Regions from separate parts of the Homo sapiens genome. Here region 1 is linked to region 2. The links are contacts of gene promoters, found by promoter capture Hi-C in human tissues and cell types (Jung and others, 2019). All regions are on one chromosome and are shown on one strand. Each heading gives the region's core, a stretch centred on a gene start or on the middle of the fragment in contact. The rest is flanking DNA. Distances are from core to core; before and after follow the strand shown. Region 1 overlaps KHDRBS2 (KH RNA binding domain containing, signal transduction associated 2). Region 2 holds the start of KHDRBS2 (KH RNA binding domain containing, signal transduction associated 2).

What was found. Contacts are between HindIII fragments. The study calls those that stand out against the background at their distance.
Region 1: a contact is called between a fragment that was not itself captured here and the fragment with the promoter of KHDRBS2 in region 2, in 1 of the 25 tissues and cell types used here (dorsolateral prefrontal cortex).

The regions. Positions count from the first base shown.
Region 1 is chr6:61,863,465-61,868,494 of GRCh38, reverse strand. All of the region lies in intron 6 of KHDRBS2 (KH RNA binding domain containing, signal transduction associated 2), which reads left to right. Among named protein-coding and RNA genes, the nearest start is that of KHDRBS2, 420 kb to the left of the region's middle. The HindIII fragment of the contact is 4,552 bases long and covers 1,265-5,030 here.
Region 2 is chr6:62,283,307-62,288,135 of GRCh38, reverse strand. KHDRBS2 (KH RNA binding domain containing, signal transduction associated 2) reads left to right here and starts at 1,911. Exons shown (of 9, transcript NM_152688.4): 1 at 1,911-2,278. The coding sequence starts at 2,188. RefSeq lists a silencer at 1,962-2,051. The HindIII fragment of the contact is 10,192 bases long and covers 1-4,829 here.

The DNA.
Region 1 (5,030 bases), core at 2,291-4,790, 420 kb after region 2:
ATGGACAGAGTTCTTATTTCTCCCTGGGACATTAAGCAGGACCCTGATTCATTCCTCCTCACTGGCCGGGATCTCCCAACTGGAGCCTACAGCCACCGTCGCTGGTACTCTAGGCTGACAGAGTTCTTATTTCTCCCTGGGATGGAGTGCCTGGCAGGGAGGGGAGGTCTGCCACCTTTGCTGTTTGGGTGAATTGGTCATTCCAGCCTGTGGGCTTTAGAGTCCAAGATGATGCAGGTGGAGGCAGTTCCCCATCATGGCTTGGCTGCTTTATTGAGGTGTGGCCAGACTGCTTTAAATGGGACCCTATTCCATTCTTCCTCCCTGGGTGGGTCCTCCCAGCCACCCCTGCTTGAGTTACACCTCCTACAGAGTTCTAATTTCTCCCTAGAGTGCTTGGGGGTCGGGGTGGGCTGCCACATTTGCTGTTTGGGCATCTCAGCTGGTCCAGCCTGCAGGCCTTGGAGAGTCCAAGCTGATCAGGGCTGAAGGGATCCCCCAACATAGCACAGCTGCTCTACTAGAACTCAGCCAGGCTGCTTCTTTAAGCTGGTCCCTGATCTCATTTCTCCTGACTAGGGAGAACTCCCAACCCCAACTGGGGTCCCCAGCCACCTCCTACAGGTACGTTTGGGCTGGCAACCAGTCAGTAACCCCCTGGGATGGAGCTCCCAGAGGATGGGGCAGGCGGCCATCTTGGCTGTTTGACAGCCTTCACCAGTGATACCTCCAAGTACTGGAAAAGCTGCGGTGACTAAGGTCTAGAGCAGATGGCCAGCAAACGGCAGCAGCCCTATGGAAGAGTGGACAGACTGTTAAAAGCCAAACAAACAACACAAAAACAAGCAAACAAGCAAACAAAAAACCCCATCCAAAGATCAGCAACATCAAAGATGGAAGGCAGATAAGCCCACAAAGATGAGATAGGATTAGTGCAAAACCACTGAAAACTCAAAAAGTCATAGTGCCGCCTTCCCTCCAAATGACCACACCTCCCTAGCAAGAGTTCAGAACTGGGCTGAGGCTGAGACAGCTGAAATGACAGAAGTAAGTGATAGGGTTTGGCTGTGTCCCCACCGAAATCTCATCTTGAATTCCCACATGTTGTGGAAGGCACATGGTGGGAGGTAATTGAATCATGAGGGGCATGGCTTTTTCATGCTGTTCTCATGATAGTAAGTTTCACGAGATCTCATGGCTTTAGTTCACCTGCACAAGCTCTCTCTTTTTGCCTGCTGCCATACATGTAAGACATGACTTGTTCCTCCTTGCCCTTGGCCATGATTATGAGGCCTCCCCTGGCACGTGGAAGTGTGAATCCATTAAACCTATTTTTCATCCCAGTCTTAGGTACCTCTTTATCAGCACATTGAAAATGGACTAATACAGTAAATTGGTACCAGTAGAGTGGGGCTCTGCTGAAAAGATACCTGAAAATGTGGAAGTGACTTTGGAACTGGGTAACAGGCAGTGGTTGGAACAGTTTGGAGGGCTCAGAAGAAGATAGGAAAATGTGGGAAAGTTTGGAACTTTCTAGAGACTTGTTGAATAGCTTTGTCCAAAATGCTGATAGCGATATCGACAATAAAGTCCAGGCTGAGATTATCTCAGATGGAAATTAGGAACTTGTTGGAAACTGGAGCAAAGGTGACTCTTGTTATGTTTTAGCAAAGAGACTGGCAGCATTTTGCCCCTGCTCTAAATATTTGTGGAACTTTGAACTTGAGAGAGATGATTTAGGGCATTTGGCAGAAGAAATTTCTAAGCAGCAAAGCATTCAAGATGTGACTTTGGTGCTGTTAAAGGCATTCAGATTTATAAGAGAAGCAGAGCACAGAAATTCACAAAAGTTGCAACCTGATAATGTGATAGAAAAGAAAATCCCATTTTCTGAAGAGAAATTTAAGCTGGCTGCAGAAATTTACATAAGTAGTGAGGAGCCAAATGTTAATCACCAAGACAATGTGAAAAAATATCTCCAGAGCATGTCAGAGGTTTTCACAGCAGCCCCTTCCATCACAGGCCCAGAGGGCCAGTGTCCCCATGTTGTGTGCAGCCTAGGGACTTGGTGCCCTGCATCCGAGCTGCTCCAACCATGGCTGAAAGGGGCCGACATAGAGCTCGGACCGTGGCCTCAGAGTGTGCAAGCCTCAAACCTTGGCAGCTTCCACGTGGTGTTGAGACTGCTGGTGCACATTTGTCAAGAATTGGGGCTTGGGAGCCTCCACCTAGATTTCACAGGATGTATGGAAACTCCTGAATGTCCAGGTAGAAGTTTGCCTTAGGGGCAGACTCTCATGAGAACCTCTGCTAAGGCAGTGTGGAAGGGAAATGTGGGGTTGGAGCCCCCACACAGAGTCCCTACAGGGACATTGCCTAGTGGAGCTGTGAGAAGAGGGCCACCAGGAACTGTGAGAAGAGGGCCACCATCCTCCAGAGCCCAGAATAGTAGATCCACCAATAGCTTGTAATGTGCACCTGGAAGCTGGAGACACACAACGCCAGTTAGTGAAAGCAGCTGGGAGGAAGGCTTTACCTTGCAAAGCCACAGGGTTGGAGCTGCTCAAGGCTGTGGGAGCCCACCTCTTGCATCAGCGTGACCTGGATATGAGACATAGAGTCAAAGGAGATCATTTTGGAGCTTTAAGATTAGACTACCCCACCAGATTTTGGACTTGCATGGGGCCTGTAGCCCCTTTGTTTTGGCCAATTTATCCCAGGCTCATAGATGGAAGAGACTTGCCTTGTCTCAGATGAGACTTTGGACTGTGGACTTTTGAGTTAATGCTGAAATGAATTAAGACTTTGGGGGACTGTTGGGAAAGCAGGATTGGTTTTGAAATGTGAGGACATGAGATTTGGGTGGGACGAGGGGTGGATTGATGTGTTTTGGCTGTGTCCCCACCCAGATGCCATCTTGAATTCCCACATGTTGTGGGAAGAACCCAGTGGGAAGTAATTGAATCATGGTGGGAGGTCTTTCCCATGCTGTTTTTGTGACAGTGAATAAGTTTCATGAGATCTGATGGTTTTTATAATGAGGAGTTCCCCTGCTCAAGCTTTCTCTTTTTGCCTGCTGCTATCCATATAAGACATGACTTACTCCTCCTTGCCTTCCACCATGATTGTGAGGCCTCCCCAGCCACATGGAACTGTGAGTCCATTAAAACTTCTTTTTCTTTCCAGTCTCTAGTATATCTTTTTCAGAAGCATGAAAAGAGACTAATATAGTAGGCTTCGGAATGTGAATAAAAATGAACTTTGCTGAACCAAAGGAGCACCTTGTAACCCAATACAAGGATGCTAAGAATCATGATAAAACAATGCAGGTACTGATAGCCAAAACAGTGAGTATAAAGAGGAACATAACTGACCTGACAGAGCCGAAAAACACACTACAAGAACTTCACAATGCAGTCACAAGTATTAATAGCAGAAGAGACCCAGCAGAGGAAAGAATCTCAGAGCTTGAAGACTGTCTGAAATAAGACAGGCAGAAAAGAACAGTTAAAAAGAATGAAAAGGAATGAACAAAACCTCTTAGAAATAAGGGATTATATAAAGAGACCAAATCTACAACTGATTGGTGTACCTGAAAGAGACACCAATCAAGAATGGAAGCAATTGGAGAATGGAAAACATACTTCAGAATATCATCCAGAAGAACTTTCCCAAACTGGCTAGACAGGACAGCATTCAAATTCAGGAAATGCAGAGAACCCCAGTAGGATACTCCATGAGAAGATCATCCCCAAGACACATCATCATCAGATTCTCCAAAGATGAAATGACAGAAAAAATGTTAAGGGCAGCCAGAGAGAAAGGCCAGGTCACCTGCAAAGGGAAGCTTATCAGACTAACAGCAGACCTCTCAAGGAAATCCTAAAAGACAGAAGAGATTGAGGCTAATATTCAAAATTCTTGAAGAAAAGAAATTTCAACTCCAAATTTTATATCCAGCCAAATTAAGCCTCATAAGTAAAGGAGGAATAAGATCCTTTTCAGATAAGCAAATGCTGAGGGAATCCATTGCCACAAGACCTTCCTTACAAGAGACCCTGAAGAAAGGAATGGAAAAATAATTACCAGCCACTACAAAAACATGCTGAAGTATACAGACCAGTGACACTATGAAGCCACCATATGAACAAGTCTGAAAAATAACCACCTTGCATCATGTTGACAGGATCAAATCCACATATAACAATACTATCCTTAAATGTAAATGGCCTAAGTGCCCCAATTAAAAGACACAGAGTGGCAAGCTGGATAAAGAACCAAGACCTGTCAGTATGCTGTCTTCAAGAGACCCATCTCATATTCAAAGAAACACATAGTCTCAAAATAAAGGGAAGGAGAAAAAATGGAAAACAGGAAAAAAGAGGGATCGCAATCCCAGTTTCTGATAAAACAAAGTTTAAATCAACAAAGATCAAAGGAGACAAAGAAGGGAATTACATAACAGTAAGGAGTTCAATTCAACAAAAAAACCTAACTATCTTAAATATATATGCACTCACCCAACACAGGATCACCCACATTCATAAAGCAAGTTCTTAGAGACCTACAAAGAGACTTAGACTACCACACAATAATAGTTGGAGACTTTAACATCCTACTAACAATGTTAGACAGATCATTGAGTCTGAACATTAGCAAAGATATTCAGGACCTGAACTCAGCTCTGGAGCAAGTGGATCTGATAGATATCTATAGAACTCTCCACCCAGAAACAACAGAATATATATTCTTCTCATTGCCAATTGGCACTTACTCTAAAATTGACCACATAATCTGAAGTAAAACACTCCCCAGCAAATGCAGAAGAACTAAAATAGTTAGAAACAGTCTCTTGGATCACAGTACAATCAAATTATAGCTCAAGATTAAGGTATTCACTCAAAACCATTTAACTACATGAACAACCTGCTCTAGAATGACTTTTGGGTAAATAATGAAATTAAGGCAGAAATCAAGAAGTTCTTTGAAACTAATGAGAACAAAGATACAACATACCAGATTCTCTCGGA
Region 2 (4,829 bases), core at 662-3,161:
ATTACAGTAGTCACATTGACCTCAGTCAATTCCAAAAGACAGCACAGTTCTTTCCACCACAGGGCTTTTTCAGGGGCAAGTTCCCCTGCTTGGAATGTCTTTCTTTGCACATTGTACTCACTTGGTTCATTCTTTTCCATGAGTTTTCACCGTAAATATCAGCTGCTTATCGAGATTGTATGTTTACCCTAGTCAAAAATAAAGAAACTAATGTCTTCCCTTGTATTCTCTTTCTTAACTCCTTGGTTCATTCTTGACCTTTATTGCAGTCAACAATTACCATTCCTCTTGTATACTTGGTTTTATTTATCTTCTCCCATTAGAAAACATCTTTGTGATGACAAGGAATGAATGTGTATGTATCTTATTCACCAATGTTTCTCCAATTTTAAGTACTGTCCCTAGACTCTTTTCAGTATCCAATAAACATTTGTTGAATGCACACATGCACAAATAAATTAAATATATAACACACAGAAAGGTAGGTTGAAGCAGTATATTCTGGATATAAATGGTGCTAATATAGAATTGAATTTTAATCTCAACTTCAGCATTAACTAGACATGAGACGATTTCTCTGTTTTGCCTCAGTTTCCATATTTATACAAACAGAGAAAGTAATACTTGGCTGGCATTTTTCAGAGTGCTTCTGTGAGGACGTATTGAAATAATCAATGTGAGGCACGTTACGTTATTTAAACATTATACAAATAAAAGTTAATCTCCCGAATTTATCTAAAAATTAAAAGGAAAATATTTAAATACAGTAAGATAAGTTGGAAAAATTTCAGCACATTTTATTTGTAGCAAAGTTGGCCCTCATTCTTCCACACCAAAAATAATGGGGGAGAGAAGAATCAGGAAATGACTACTTATGAAACGAGAACCCAAGACTTGGGGAAAGATTGTTTCCTAGCGATTGAGGCATGCAAGTTACATTTTATAGCCGCATTGGTAAAAGAAGGATGGGCTTTGCCTCCACGCTTGGTGATATCATGAGGGTTTAACTTTCCTTTAAATAGAGGTGGGATAATACAAAGTAGCTCAGCAACAGTACCTGGTGAAAGAGACTGGCACATCTAAAACTAGGAGAAAGGGGAAAATTAGAGCAAACGTGGTTACCTATTTTCTAGTCTCTTCTTTCTTCTACATGTCTTCCCAATTCTTTCACAAACTGTGACTAATGAATCATATTGTTTTTGGTTTTTAAATTCAGCCCCTCCCAACCTCCCTTCCACAGATAGGGTCTGGGGAAAGGAGGCACGGATAGGTTACCAGAACTAATTCAATATCCTAATGATTGTACACCTCAATCATGTCTCTGCACAATATTTCTTCGAGCCGCTTTATTTGTTTATCAATGAACATCCTACTGCGTCCCTGAGATGTAGGTCATCGGAAATACCAGCTGCCGATCACATGCAGTCTTCATTGTATTTCCAGACCCAGTGCGCTGCTGATTCCTGCACAACTGGAGTGCGCCTGAGCTGTGTGAGGGAAAGGAGACACCTGTGCCTTAGGGACGCAGGTGAAGTCCCATCTACCTTCCTGAGACTTTCCCTGGCGCTTTTCCACCCTCTCGGGTGGCTCACTTCTCATCTCCATCTCCCCTGTCCACTTGTACTCAGACCTCTCTCTTTAACCTGCGCTTTTCCCGCGCTCTCTCTCCTCTGCGCCTTAGCTGAAGACACAGAGAACTCCACAAAACTGGGCATGCCTAATAGCCAGGGAAGGCTTGGGCGCAAGAAGAAAGCGTTTGCATCTTCCGAGCTCCCTTCCCCTCTGCAGCTGCCTCCTGCCAGTCAGGCCACCCGACTTGCGCTACCGCCCAATGAGAGCCCGCGGCCTTCTGCCAGCGCCCCGCCTCTCCTGGCACCACCACCAATGAGTGGTTGGCGGAGGTGGGCCGCGTCCTGTTCCCGCCTCTCCAGTTAAGGCCGCTGGTGTGAGCCGGGGCTCTGCGCGAGCGAGGGACGACGGAAGGGACGGGCAGGTGTGGGCGCGGGGCCACGCAGCCCGACGGCGGGAGTCGCAGGTGCTGGGTGCATGGGCCAGTGAGGACGCACAGAGATCCCTCGCCGCGCGGAGGAGGAGCAGCGCGGGAGCCAGGCGCTGCCCCAAGACCCTGCCTGCGTCCGAGCGAGCGGAACCTCGCGCTTCGCCCGGGGACAATCCGAAGTCCGCGCTATGGAAGAGGAGAAATATTTGCCTGAGCTGATGGCAGAGAAAGATAGCCTGGATCCATCTTTTGTGCATGCGTCGCGCCTTTTGGCAGAAGGTAGGACTTGCCCCCACAGATGGGCACAAACCGCCGGCTGCCTATCTCACCCGCGGCTTGATTAGGGGAGTGAAGTTGGGGAGGGACTCCTCTCCCCGCCTTCGCAGAAACTGTCCCCCTGAAGATGCTCGCCTTAGAGCTCGGGCGGACAGACCCCGTTCTTGGGGCGGACAGCAGTGCTCCTTCTCCACGTCTTAATTTGGAGAAGACCAAAGCTACGGAGATCTAATGGCAGTGGCGATGTGACCTGTTAGGATCATTGATAGAGAAACCATAAAGTGTATGTAACGCGGTCTACAGGGACATTTTCACTTCGCAGAGGGAAGGGAAAGCAGTTTGGAAGTAAATGGTGATCAATGTAGTGTTCTAAGAGCTTCGTAGCTACAGATCGGTATTTTTATTTTTATTTTTTGCTGCATTTAGGAAGTGATTTTTGATACCCTTTAATCAAAGTCTATCCTATGGAAAGTGTTAGAATTAACCTATGCATTAAACTATGCATGTTCTTATATGTATGTTAATGTGGTAAGTAAAGGCTAAAGTGCTTATACATTTATTTGAAGTGTGATGATTGGGTACTCTGTGAGATATTGGTCCCTGGGAACACTCTATAATTGATCAACTGTTTTACCAAGTGTGCATTTTCTTTTGTGTACCTGTAATGTTAAAGGGGATTTCATTCCTAGAGGAACACATATGTCTTGTTTTTTGCATTGCTTTGAAAGGTTTTTTTTTGAAAAAAGACACATGAACTTTATTAACCGAATTACTCCATTTATGTTATAATAATGCCATCTAAATACTAAAGACACCTATGGTATCTGTAGTTACTTACCCATGCCTTTTTAAAACATCTGCAGATTTTTTTTAGATGAATGCTTCATTAATAATGAATTGCTTCATCATCAAATTGGTTACAATGCAGTTTTGTAGCTAAGTTTGTTATGGACTTACATACAGCAAAAAACTAAAACGGATAACTTCCTCTACCCAAGCTCCTCAGTATTAAAAGATTTTTTTGAGACTTAGTTGTACCAAGGAAGAATAAATTCTGCTCCTCAATATATGATTTAAATAGGCATTAGCTATATTTTTTAATTTATGAATTGTTATTTATATTAACAATGAAGTGTAAGGTATTTTTCTATGTTTAAATACTAAACAATTAGGAAAAGATTTATATTCAAAACATGGAACATGTGAAATAACTAAACTGTTTTCAGGGAAAAAGCTAGTTTTATAGATAAGTGGGAAGGTGAAATACAATTATGCCTACTACTTTCTTGGTTACTGAATGAAAAAAAATATAAATTAAAGTGGAAAAGTAAAGTCAATAAAAACGAACTTTTTTTACTTTCCCAAAAAAGACAACTACATAAAAATAATAGCAAAATAATGTGTTAATAGATGTTTAAGATTGTTTGAAATGATTTAAAAGGCAAGTCTTACCAGTCTTCAGTATCTTTAATATATTTTGAATAGTCTTCAATATATTTTCCAGAATTTTCTTTATGTAGCTTATAATATGTCTTTAAAGTGAAAAAAAAGTTACAAATTGATCATTCTCTCTGACCCGCTAATTGGAGTTCTATTTGAGACAAGTGGCTCAAAGATTAATTCATCAGTCATTAATATGAGTTATTGTACTTGAAGACGGCCAAGCTAAATAAATGCATACAAGAAACTCTTAACAGAGTGCATAAGTATTTCTGTGGCTGGTAAAACAGTCAGAGAATGCACTTGGTTCCTTAACATTTTATCTTTCCTAGGAACTTGATTTCTTGATATAATACTTAGGAACATGTTCTGATGTACCTTGTAATTTGATTTTTTCCCAGCAGGGGGAAGCATGCCCTGCTTTTGTAAAGAATTAGAAGGAAAAGCTCCTAAATAGAGAAAAACATCTAAGTAAGAAACAAAGAGGTTACCCAAATTTCAGAGAAATCAGAATGAGGAAAAGAGAATGGAGGAGGTTATAATAATCTTGGAGTACCTAAAGAGTTATGCAAAAGGGTGCATAGGTTTTATATTAGCTCTCTGTACCTGGGGCTCTTTACATGTGCTAATTAAAGAGTGTAAGATGATTGTTCTTGGAATCTCAATAATCTTAATGTATATTTTATGGTATAGATCTTTCATTATCTTTCCAAAGGCCAGTTGCCAAGATGTCCACGCTTAGTTTCAGATCTCTATAGAAGAGTATGGTTGAGATTATTTTATTTCTCATACCTGAGAATGCACTGATTGAAGGGAGTGGCTGTAAATAAACCTGACATAGATATTCATTTGGAAAGAAGGTGCAAAGTACATTTCAGTCAGTACTGTGCAGACAGTGTCAAGCCTGAGTGAGTAGTAAAAATGATACAGATGATTCAGTTCTTCAGAATGATTTTCCGGAAGCTAATATATATAAAGGCAGTAGTATAAACCAATGAGATTTCACAATGATTTATTTTGCATTTTGATTGGTGATACAGGCAAATCAGTGCTCAATTGACAGTGCTTCATGTAGAATTGAAGGCTGTGGGGTTGAAAGTACTAGTTGGATGTT